Regions from separate parts of the Homo sapiens genome. Here regions 1 and 3 are each linked to region 2. The links are contacts of gene promoters, found by promoter capture Hi-C in blood cells and fetal thymus (Javierre and others, 2016). All regions are on one chromosome and are shown on one strand. The core of a region is centred on a gene start or on the middle of the fragment in contact, and the rest is flanking DNA. Distances in the headings are between cores, read along the strand shown. Region 1 overlaps APOL3 (apolipoprotein L3). Region 2 holds the start of FOXRED2 (FAD dependent oxidoreductase domain containing 2). Region 3 has its middle 4.2 kb from the start of APOL1.

Region 1 (3,769 bases), core at 504-3,003, 360 kb after region 2:
TCTCATGAGTCCATAAGAGGTTCCATGAAATTGCACATGGCATTGGCATGCACACAGGTGAAGCTGTCACCTGCTAAGGCATTAGTTTGGCTGGTGACATGTGACAGTGAGACCCTGAAGCTTGGAGGTGCCAGGTCAGGAGGCCGTCAAGTGGCTTGAGAGTTCATGTGCAGCCAGGACTAATAGCCAGGCCTTTCACTTTTCAGTCAAAGGGGGCAGTGGCTGGACCCAGTGGCCTTCAGTCAGAAGATCAAAGGGCATGTGGCATTGGAAGAGAGAACATGCCAGGCAAGGTGATCTCTTCCAGTCTGAGGTTTTATTTGATAGCTTAAGGACTCAGAGTTAGTCAAAATGCAATGTCTGAAGGCACCCTTCCTTCTGACACCAGTTGCAGATTTGAAGGTGTTTCTTAAGCCCCCACTCAGGTTTGATAATTCACTACAAAGACTTACGTAACTCACTGATAACTGTTATTGCACGATTGTGGTTTATCACAGGGAAAGAACACAGATTAAAATCAGCCTAAGGAAGAGACACACAGGGCAGAGTCTGGGAGGGTTTCAGGTGTGAAGCTTCGTTGTCCTCAGGACGCTGTGTTCTCCTGTGTGAATGTGGGACAAAACACATGGGGTGTTGCCAACCAGAGAAGCTCACCCAGTTAAGGAAAAATTCCTGTGAATCACATTAGATCAGGAAGCCTTTATTCAGGATTGTGTTACAGGGGAGGGAGACTGAGCCCAGCTCCCAATATAGTAAAGACAGAGGGGGAGTCACAGCCAACACCAGGGTGAGGAGTGGGAGATGGACCAGTTCTGACTGGAGACACCAGAATGGGGGGTTTCTGCTAAACTGGCCTAACAAGCTGCTCAACTAAAGGCAGGTAAGGAGCGGGTGAAGACCGTGATCAGACAGCAAGAATGCTCAGACAGCAAGTGGGGAGGACCCTCCCTAACTGCCTTGGGGGATTCTTGCTGAACTGGGGCAGTACAGGCCCAGCAAGCACGGGATGGGCATGGAAGGTCAGCGCCTAGAGGAGAAAAGGCTCAGAGCAGCCTGACTGGAGTTTGGCCAAGGAGAAAGTCTTTCTCAACCTATGCCTCAATGTACAGAGCTCTTTCTGGGGCTGGATCACAAGCTGTCCTGATGGCTGACATGGAGTCCCCAGCCCCTCCCTGAGGTCTAACACCCTTAGTTCCCAGTTCCTTTGGAAGGCAGAAAAGATACGTAATAGCCCCAAAACCCATCACCCATAACATTGCTATACTGTGCTGTAGCCAAACCACCAGGGAAACAAAGATGTTCCTACCAGGCAGGACATTCCAGGGCCCCAGAGATCCCTTCCCAGGGCCCAAAGACAAAAGAACGACCTCTCTTCTAATAAAGTTAATCCTTCACTGTTCTATGATCCTCTGAATGAAGGTCTTTTTGCTCCGAACCCACTTCTCTTTGTTCATCTACAAAATTTCCCCTCTCCACACACTATTGGAGGGATGATGTTGACCTCTCTTGCTTGAGGAGCCATCTTTATCGAATACCTACCACTAAAGAGCATCTGAAGATGACTTTAAGTTTTTTATTCCCATACAGAATAAGTACTGTGGCATATCTATGATATACAAAACATGTTTAACCTTGGAAAAATTATTTTAAATTTTTCCATTTAAAATTTAAAGCTTTATTTCCATTTGACTCATAGTAATAGCTCTGTGATTTATGTAGAACAGATCTTATTGAGCTGATTTTACAGATAAGTAAGCTGCCTTTCTTAATCATCTGTCCTTTATTGGTACAGGGATGAGGCAGATGCTCTCTACGAAGCTCTGAAGAAGCTTAGAACATATGCAGCTATTGAGGACGAATATGTGCAGCAGAAAGATGAGCAGTTTAGGGAATGGTTTTTGAAAGAGTTTCCCCAAGTCAAGAGGAAGATCCAGGAGTCCATAGAAAAGCTTCGTGCCCTTGCAAATGGTATTGAAGAGGTCCACAGAGGCTGCACCATCTCCAATGTGGTGTCCAGCTCCACTGGCGCTGCCTCTGGCATCATGTCCCTTGCTGGTCTTGTTTTGGCACCATTTACAGCAGGGACGAGTCTGGCCCTTACTGCAGCTGGGGTAGGGCTGGGAGCAGCGTCTGCTGTGACTGGGATCACCACCAGCATCGTGGAGCACTCATACACATCATCAGCAGAAGCTGAAGCCAGCAGGCTGACTGCAACCAGCATTGACCGATTGAAGGTATTTAAGGAAGTTATGCGTGACATCACACCCAACTTACTTTCCCTTCTTAATAATTATTACGAAGCCACACAAACCATTGGGAGTGAAATCCGTGCCATCAGGCAAGCCAGAGCCAGGGCCCGACTCCCTGTGACCACCTGGCGAATCTCAGCTGGAAGTGGTGGTCAAGCAGAGAGAACGATTGCAGGCACCACCCGGGCAGTGAGCAGAGGAGCCCGGATCCTGAGTGCGACCACTTCAGGCATCTTCCTTGCACTGGATGTGGTCAACCTTGTATACGAGTCAAAGCACTTGCATGAGGGGGCAAAGTCTGCATCTGCTGAGGAGCTGAGGCGGCAGGCTCAGGAGCTGGAGGAGAATCTAATGGAGCTCACTCAGATCTATCAGCGTCTGAATCCATGCCATACCCACTGACCCCAGACCAGTGCAGCCAGCAGGGGAGGTGAGCCATACACAGGCCACGACAAAATGCAGGCATTTTATTAGGGGGATAAAGAGGGCAAGGTAAAGTTTATGGAGCTGAGTGTTAGTGACTTTGGCATTTCTGTAGCTGAGCACAGCAGGGGAGGGGTTAATGCAGATGGCAAGTGCACCAAGGAGAAGGCAGGAATGCTGGAGCCTGGAATAAGGGAGGAGAGGGGACTGGAGAGTGTGGGGAATAGGAAGAAGAAATTTCCTTTAGACTAACGAATATATTGGGGGGAGGAATAGAGGGGAGGTGTGCAGGAACCAGCAATGAGAAGGCCAGGAAAAGAAAGAGCTGAAAATGCAGAAAGCCGAAGAGTTAGAACTTTTGGATACAGCAGAAGAAACAGCGGCTCCACTACCGACCTGCCCCCGGTTCGATGTCCTTCCAAGAATGAAGTCTTTCCCTGGTGATGGTCCCCTGCCCTGTCTTTCCAGCATCCACTCTGTCTTGTCCTCCTGGAAGTGTATCTCAGTCAGCCAGTGGCTTCTTGATGATGGCGGTGGAGGTGGTGGTTGTAGTGTGATGGATCCCCTTTAGGTTATTTAGGGGTATATGTCCCCTGCTTGAACCCTGAAGGCCAGGTAATGAGCCATGGCCATTGTCCCCAGCTGAGGACCAGGTGTCTCTAAAAACCCAAACATCCTGGAGAGTATGCGAGAACCTACCAAGAAAAACAGTCTCATTACTCATATACAGCAGGCAAAGAGACAGAAAATTAACTGAAAAGCAGTTTAGAGACTGGGGGAGGCCGGATCTCTAGAGCCATCCTGCTGAGTGCCCTGTGTGTAAGTCCTAATAAACTCACCTACTCACCAAGCTGGACTTATTCGAGTCATTCCTTGGTCTCCTGGCTCCTTTCTCGCTTTGGGAGCAAGTTCCTGTCTGAAGTTTTTGTCTGAACAGTGGTAAAGGTGATGGTGATGATGTCAGCAGACAGCAGGAGGACTTGACAAATGTCAGCCCTGCTTGGGGCCAGGATACACTGAGGGAACGATGACATTCCAATGAAACTCCAAATTCTGTATTGGAAAAGTCATTGATTTGTGAAGAAAAATAAAAGGAG
Region 2 (3,521 bases), core at 245-2,744:
AGGATCGCTTGAGCCTGGAAGGTCAGGGCTGCAGTGAGCCATGATTGTGTCACTGCACTCCAGCCTGGGTGACAGTGAGACTCTGTCTCAAAAAGAAGAAATAAGACATCCCTACTTTATTTTTGGCAAAGTATTCTGCCTGACCTCTCTGGTTGCAATGCTTATTCAACAAATGCTTAAACTTCCGTATGTCAGATACTGGACAATTTCTGCTCTGAGGGAGCTTTTCTCTGATGTTGACACAGACTGAAGAAAGTAAATGACATTCGGCCAGGCGCGGTGGCTCACGCCTGTAATCCCAGCACTTTGGGAGGCCGAGGCGGGCGGATCACGAGGTCAGGAGATCGAGACCATCCTGGCTAACACAGTGAAACCCTGTCTCTACTAAAAATACAAAAAATTAGCCGGGTGTGGTGGCGGGCACCTGTAGTCCCAGCTACTAGGGAGGCTGGGGCAGAAAAATGGCGTGAACCTGGGAGGTGGAGCTTGCAGTGAGCCGAGATCACGCCACTGCACTCCAGCCTGGGCGACAGAGTGAGACTCCATCTCAAAAAAAAAAAAAAAAGAAAAAGTAAATGACATTCTTTGGTAGGTACTTGTAGGCCTGAGAGGTCAGGAAAATTTTTCTAAGGAGTCCCCAGCTACGATTTTTAATTCAAAGAATCTCCAGCCATGCAAATCTGCAGGCTCGCAGTTCTTTCCACCTGCCCTTCCCCCAAGAACACTCAGCCCCATTTCACTGGACTTTGAAGGTTCCTACACTGACTTCGTATTTCTCCCCATGTAAATCTCATGCAGGGGCCACTTGCCACCCCTGGGAAGCCAACCTTCATCATCCAGTTCACGTTATCTTCCTCCTGCCATTTATCTTGCCTCCACTGAGTTTTAATTCCAGGCTCCACTTCCTGTGATTGTAAACATATCCCTTCATCCCTATGTCTCCATTTGACCAGTCAGCTACCAAATGTCGGAAACAATGCCTTGCCCACCTCTCCTATTTGGTGGAAGATTAGGACAGTCGTGTATGTTACTTGGTAAGCAGTACACTGAGTCACTGTAGCAAACGCTTGTTAATTGGCTTATCGGTCCTGGCTCCACCACGCTGGTTTCCAGTCCCACAAAACTGGGTAGGCCAACTAGTTTTAGCGTTTGGCTACATTCATGGAATATGAGAGCTAGGATTAGCTCCAAAAATCACGTGCTCCCCTCCCTCCGTGTAGAGAGGCACCTTTTAAAACGAAGGACCCAGTTCCCCATCCCGGATCTCCAGACCTTCCACCCTCGCGGGTGCGCGCTAGCCCCAGGCCCCTCTACCAGCCCCCGGAGCAGCGAACGCAGCACGCGCGCGCCTCTCCCGCGCTGGGCCGGAGCAGGCAGCCTGCCAGCTGGTCCCGGCGTGCCGCGCGCCGCGCACGTGACCCCGCCCCCTGCCATTGGTCCGGGCGCGAGGGGCGGAGCCGCCGCGGAGCAAGCGAGCCAAGCGCGGCCTCATTAGACCACGGGTTGCAGCCGGAGCGGCTGGGAGGTTCGCGCGTTTCTCAGGGTTCGGTCGGAGGCGGGGAGGCCGGAGCTGCGGGCGTAGGGACCTGGCGGCTCCTGAAGCGCACGCGGGCGGGCGGCAGGTGTGCGCGGCATCCCTGTCACGTGGCCGAAGAGCCTGGGGCGCGCGGACCCTGGCAGGGGGCGGGGCGCACGCAGGCCACACCCACTTCAGGCTCCCACCCGGTCGCTGGAGAGGGGCCAAGGCCTCTGGAAGGTCCAACCTGGAGGGTGGTTCAAAGGGGTGTTGGGCACCCTCAAATTAGGGGAAAATTGGGGAGTACGCTCTCCTTCCCCAGGGTGGAGGTTACTACAATCATAAGCGGGGAGCCGGTGCCCCTGAGGAAGGAGACCCTGAGGGAGATAAGATGGAGGGGCTCGGGATTCCGGGGAGCCCCAAGTCCCAGCTTGAAACGGTGGAGTCCGGGCAAATGAGCTCTGAGGACGGCTTCTGGGCCTGGCCGTGACCCAGATTGCAGTGAGAGTTCCCGCAGGCCCCGCCTCTTTCTGGGCCTCGTGTCTCCCAGCCGCCGGGCCGGGTGCGAGGCCTTACCCCTCTGATCTGCTGCAGGATGGGCCTCTCCGCTGCGGCCCCGTTGTGGGGTCCCCCGGGGCTGCTCCTGGCCATCGCCCTGCACCCAGCGCTGTCGGTGCCCCCGCGCCGGGACTACTGCGTGCTGGGCGCTGGGCCCGCGGGCCTGCAGATGGCCTACTTCCTGCAGCGCGCTGGACGCGACTACGCAGTGTTCGAGCGGGCCCCGCGGCCCGGCAGCTTCTTCACACGCTACCCGCGGCACCGCAAGCTCATCAGCATCAACAAGCGGTACACGGGCAAGGCTAACGCCGAGTTCAACCTCCGCCACGACTGGAACTCTCTGCTCAGCCACGACCCCCGGCTGCTCTTCAGACACTACTCGCGTGCCTACTTCCCCGACGCCCGCGACATGGTGCGCTACCTGGGTGACTTCGCGGACACGCTGGGGCTCCGTGTCCAGTACAACACCACCATCGCCCACGTCACTCTGGACAAGGACCGACAGGCCTGGAATGGCCACTACTTCATCCTAACTGACCAGAAGGGCCAGGTGCATCAGTGCAGGTAAGGCCGGTGCCAGAGCTCACCTGCGGAAGCTGGGACCTTCCCCACACGAACCACACACCTTGATTGGCCAGTAGGTATGGGAGGAATGGACGAAAAAGGGTATTTCGCTTTTTTTTTTTTTTAAGACGGAGTCTCACTCTGTCGCCCAGGCTGGAGTGCAATGGCACGAGGTCAGCTCACTGCAACCTCCGCCTCTCTAGTTCAAGCGATTCTCCTGCCTCAGCCTCCCCAGTAGCTGGGATTACAGGCAAGCACCACCACACCCGGCTAATTTTTTTATATTTTTGGTGGAGATGAGATTTCACGACGTTGGCCAGGCTGGTCTCGAACTCCTGACCTCAGGAGATCCACCCACCTCAGCCTCCCCAAATGCTGGGATTACAGGTATGAGCCACCGCACCCGGCCTTCAATTCTATTTTTGAAACCACTCTGTGATCAAAGCATTCTTCTGCAAGCCGGCAGGATCCAAGTCCCCAGCTGCCCTCCCCTGGATGGCGATCCTCACCAATGGAAGGAGCAGGACTTTGGAATCAAGCCTATCTGTGTTTAGACTCTGGCTCTGCTGCTTTTAGGAGCTCTCAAGCCATGGGCCTGCAGGGCCTGTGCCTCCTCACCTGTAAAGCAGGCCACATACCACCTCCAGGTTGCTTGGAGGAGTCAGAAAGATGGTGCACAGATACACTTAGTACAGGGCCTGGTACAGAATTACTGCTCAGTGGATAGATGTATCTGTCAGAGGACTCAGAAAGGGGAAAGTAGAATGTCAGGTTTCATTTCATCACCAGCAGTCATACCTGGTCTGACTGCTATGTGCAAAGTTAGGTGAATTCTCCATTTCTCATACTGTCATCTTCTCCTCTCTCACAGGGCAAATTTAAC
Region 3 (3,787 bases), core at 155-2,654, 260 kb after region 2:
TTGGCGTTGTGATCTGCCTGCCTCGGCCTCCGAAAGCGCTGGGATTACAGGCGTGAGCCACTGCGCCTGGCCGTTCTTCAACATCTTTTGGACAAAACACTGTAGAAGCAAATGAGTCTCTGGTCACGAGTTTGGTCTGAATTCTATTGTAGCAGGACGAGCTGCAGACAAAACCTCTCAGACACCGAGTAGTAGAAGGAAGGGCTTTATTCAGCTGGGAGCATCGGCAAGCTACTGCCTTAAAATCCGAGCTCCCTGAGTGCACAATTTCTGTCCCTTTTAAGGGCTCACAACACTAAAGATTTCACACGAAAGGGTCATGATTGATTTGAGCAAGCAGGCGGTACGTGACAGGGGCTGCATACACAGGTCGTCAGGGGGGAACAGAACAGGGCAGGGAGTTTCACAATGTTCTTCTACATAATGTAAGGAATCTATGAATAACATCGGCTTCTGAATCATAAGTTGATTTTTAACTAATGGGTTTAGGCCAGGCGGGCCCAGGCCTGGTTTCGGGCCTGGCGCCGGGCTGCCTGTCTTTGGTTTTACTTCCTTGTTGTTTTTTCTTAAAACAGGTACTGAGTACAAAACAATATAAAAATAATATGAGAGGGTCTTTCTCTTCCTTCACTATAACACAGTTTTCAAGCTTCAGTTTGCAGGACTTTAAGAAAAGCACAGTTTGGATTTCTGGTGATTCCAAGTCAGAAAAATGAGAGAAAAAGAAAAGCAAAATATTAGTTTGGAGACTTGTGGCCAGGAAAGAATTCAGTATGTAGTCCAGATAAACTGTGGACAAACAATACGGCTAGAAAACAATGGAGAAAGCTAGAATCCAATAACAGGCATTCTCTAGTTTCTTTTGAAACATACCTTTTCTCTCTCTAGTCCTGTATTTCTACCAAAGACAAATCATAGTAGGGCTAATTTATTTGCAACAGAAGTTTTAGTCTGATGGTTCTTGGCCTGATCATTTGTATAAAGTGCAGCAAGAATACTTATTTGGCATATGGGCTCCTTTTGGAAATTGACTTTGCTACAATATTTTCTTTTTCATAAGATATCTCAGAGTAGGCCTTTTAAAATCTCAAGCTCAGCCAGTGATTTATATTTGCCTGCAGATGCCTATATATATTAGGTGAGTTCCTTTCTCCTCAAGGTCCCAAGGTAACTTGGGCTTCCTGGGCCTGTCAGAAAGTGACATTCTTTACTTACCACAGGACAGGAACCCTGTAAAGGAACTGTATAGGCAAAGTTTGAGGAAAATTTTTCAAAGAGGCTTTCATCGGCTCTATAAGCCAGCCACCATTACTCAAAGCAGCCTACGTACATGTGGAAATATGCCATGCCAGTCAAAGCCTTGGTAAAATAACCAGTGTCTCTAGTTGTGTCCTGTTATGAAAGAAAACAGATTCCAACTGAACTTATGCAAATAACTCTATTGCCATGAACTAAGAATACTCACAAATAGTTTCCAAATTCTGGAGAAATCAGATAGTGAGAAAGAAATATGCTTCAAATTTTGCTCACAAGAGTATACTTTATTCAATTGTTAAAAGCTACATGGAGCCCAAAGGGAAAAAGAAGTTTTCTTGACTAAGAAAAACAAAACAAAAGAATCAGTCGTATATTAAACAAAAAGTCATTAAAAATTTATTTTTGTTCTCCATTAATTCATTCCCATGTAATAACCTTCTTCCACTTGATATTGGGTTAGCAATCTTCATGACCACATCAACTTTTGAATTACAGTCCTGGAAGATTTATTTTTTTCTTAGTCCGATGGCACAATCTGTAGCTGATCATAAACTGTTTTTTGAGATGTAAAGTAAACACTTTTTGCAGATAACAAAAGTATGAGAACAGCATTGGTAAAGACACATTCGACAAGGAAATTACTTTATTTCTGTGGCAAACAACTACTTAACATAATAATAATAATAGTTTCTGATAACATATGCCAAGACATATTAGACCTATAGAATCTCGTACAATTTTGGAACACATATTAATAACACATTTATATAAACATAATCCAAAGAATGTTAAACACCGTTTTATATTTGTCATGCTGGACCCCTATGCTAATGAGCTGACAGGACACAGACTTGGAGAGACAGAAGAAAAGACCTGGAGACAGCAGGTGAGACATAAGCTTTATTCAGGGAGCTTATGTACAGGTTGCCCAGGAGCAGCAGGCAAGACAAGAAATCCCCTCCTGTTTGTCAAATGCATGCAGGTTATATGATATTCTTCCCAGAGCAACCTCCACTTAGCACCTCTGCCAGGAAACCTCCACCTAGCCCAAAACAAAAGGTCTTGATTCCTTGCACAACCTCTGATCCAAGGAACAGAGTTCTTCATAAGTATGATGTAAACATCTGGATTGGCCATTCCCGGGATCCATACCTTGGAACACTGAGCAAAAATTCACCAAGGAATGTAGGGTTATTCTTAGGGGATGCTTCAGTTATTGCTGTCTGACGGGACATGCCCACCATGCTCTCCACACCCCTGCATAGCCTTGAATGGCCCTCACAATCTCATCACACTGTTTTTCTGTGATTTTCCTGGGGCCAGTTTTGTGGAAGAGCATTGCAGCCAGACACCCCAGCAGCAACACTAACCTCAACAAAGGATTATGAACGCAATTGCAATTACGCTAGATACAAAGTTTCTCCACGTGTCTGGGAGTTGATTAAACCATGAGGTGATAAGATCATAAGACAAAGACTCTGTGGCTGGACTCTGGGTATCTAACGTCAGCAGAGCCTGTGTTATGTTATGAGAGTAATGAGGGCTATATACACAACATTTTGTTTTAATTAATGCACAAGCTCCACCATGGGCAGCAGTTGTATGATTTTGGGTCATACGATTTTGCAGAGGAACATGCCTGATCTGGGTGGTTTCTTGATTGGGAAGTGTAAAACGATGGTGAGTATCATTGAAGGCTGCAGCTGTGTGTTTAGCCAGCACACGAATTGCAGCTCTGCATTTACAGTTGCCACTTTGGAGGCAAAGATGGCCAAGGGGTAGAACCACCAGTATGCACATATCTGGTAATCTCTAGCTTTTACCGTTTTCCAGTTACTGGGGGTCGTGTCTAAATGGGGAACTATATACTGTGGCAATTAAGGATGCCCTGAGATGCATCTGCCAGTCCAGTTGAATGGCAAATAAGGCCAAGGGTGGGTGACACAGGCCCACAGCCATCTCCATCTCCATGGGGATTGGTAGGCACCCATATGCAGAGACTTATTCTACCAACCCAGCCATGTATCATTGCTTAACCCAAGGGCTTGGTGACATTGTTGTACAGGTAGTCACCCCATATTGTGGGGTTAGCCGGTGATGTGCTGTCATTGTGTCTACCAATACACAGTTGCACAACTGACTACCTGTATTTGTACTATGGTTGTTCTGTCTGCTGTTATAGCTAAGGTGCAAGTTTACCCATGCCCCACTGCACCAAAGCAATTGCAAACCTTCCCCGGCCTCTGGGAATAGAATCTTCACTGCACTACAATTGCGCAGTGAAGAATTAACTTTATCCCAGGAGAGGTCTTCCCATTGTCCCCTACCCCTGCGAAGTGATCTCCAGGCCCCTGGAATGCCCTGCCTGGTAGGAATGTCTTTGTTTCCCTGGTGGTTTGGCTACAGGACAGTATAGCAAATGTGATGGATGATGGGGGTTTGGGGCTATTGGGTATCTCTTCTCACCACCAGAGGATCTGGGGACTAAAGGTGTGAGACCTCAGGGAGGGGCTGGAAACTCCAGGTCAGC

What was found. The method cuts DNA at HindIII sites, captures the fragments that hold promoters and counts their contacts. A CHiCAGO score of 5 or more calls a contact.
Region 1: a fragment that was not itself captured here is called in contact with the fragment with the promoter of FOXRED2 in region 2 in 1 of 17 cell types (activated CD4 T cells); the score reaches 6.2 in activated CD4 T cells.
Region 3: a contact is called between a fragment that was not itself captured here and the fragment with the promoter of FOXRED2 in region 2, in 2 of 17 cell types (non-activated CD4 T cells and naive CD8 T cells). The highest score is 5.6, in non-activated CD4 T cells.

What each region holds. Positions count from the first base shown.
Region 1 is chr22:36,140,082-36,143,850 of GRCh38, reverse strand. APOL3 (apolipoprotein L3) reads left to right here. Exons shown (of 4, transcript NM_145639.2): 4 at 1,793-3,522. The coding sequence ends at 2,651. Among named protein-coding and RNA genes, the nearest start is that of APOL3, 19 kb to the left of the region's middle. RefSeq lists enhancers at 1,897-2,396, 2,397-2,898. The HindIII fragment of the contact is 156 bases long and covers 1,676-1,831 here.
Region 2 is chr22:36,505,013-36,508,533 of GRCh38, reverse strand. FOXRED2 (FAD dependent oxidoreductase domain containing 2) reads left to right here and starts at 1,494. Exons shown (of 9, transcript NM_001102371.2): 1 at 1,494-1,525; 2 at 2,111-2,638. The coding sequence starts at 2,112. RefSeq lists a silencer at 1,248-1,747. The HindIII fragment of the contact is 16,870 bases long and covers 1-3,521 here.
Region 3 is chr22:36,247,079-36,250,865 of GRCh38, reverse strand. No RefSeq gene overlaps it. Among named protein-coding and RNA genes, the nearest start is that of APOL1, 4.2 kb to the left of the region's middle. The HindIII fragment of the contact is 1,506 bases long and covers 652-2,157 here.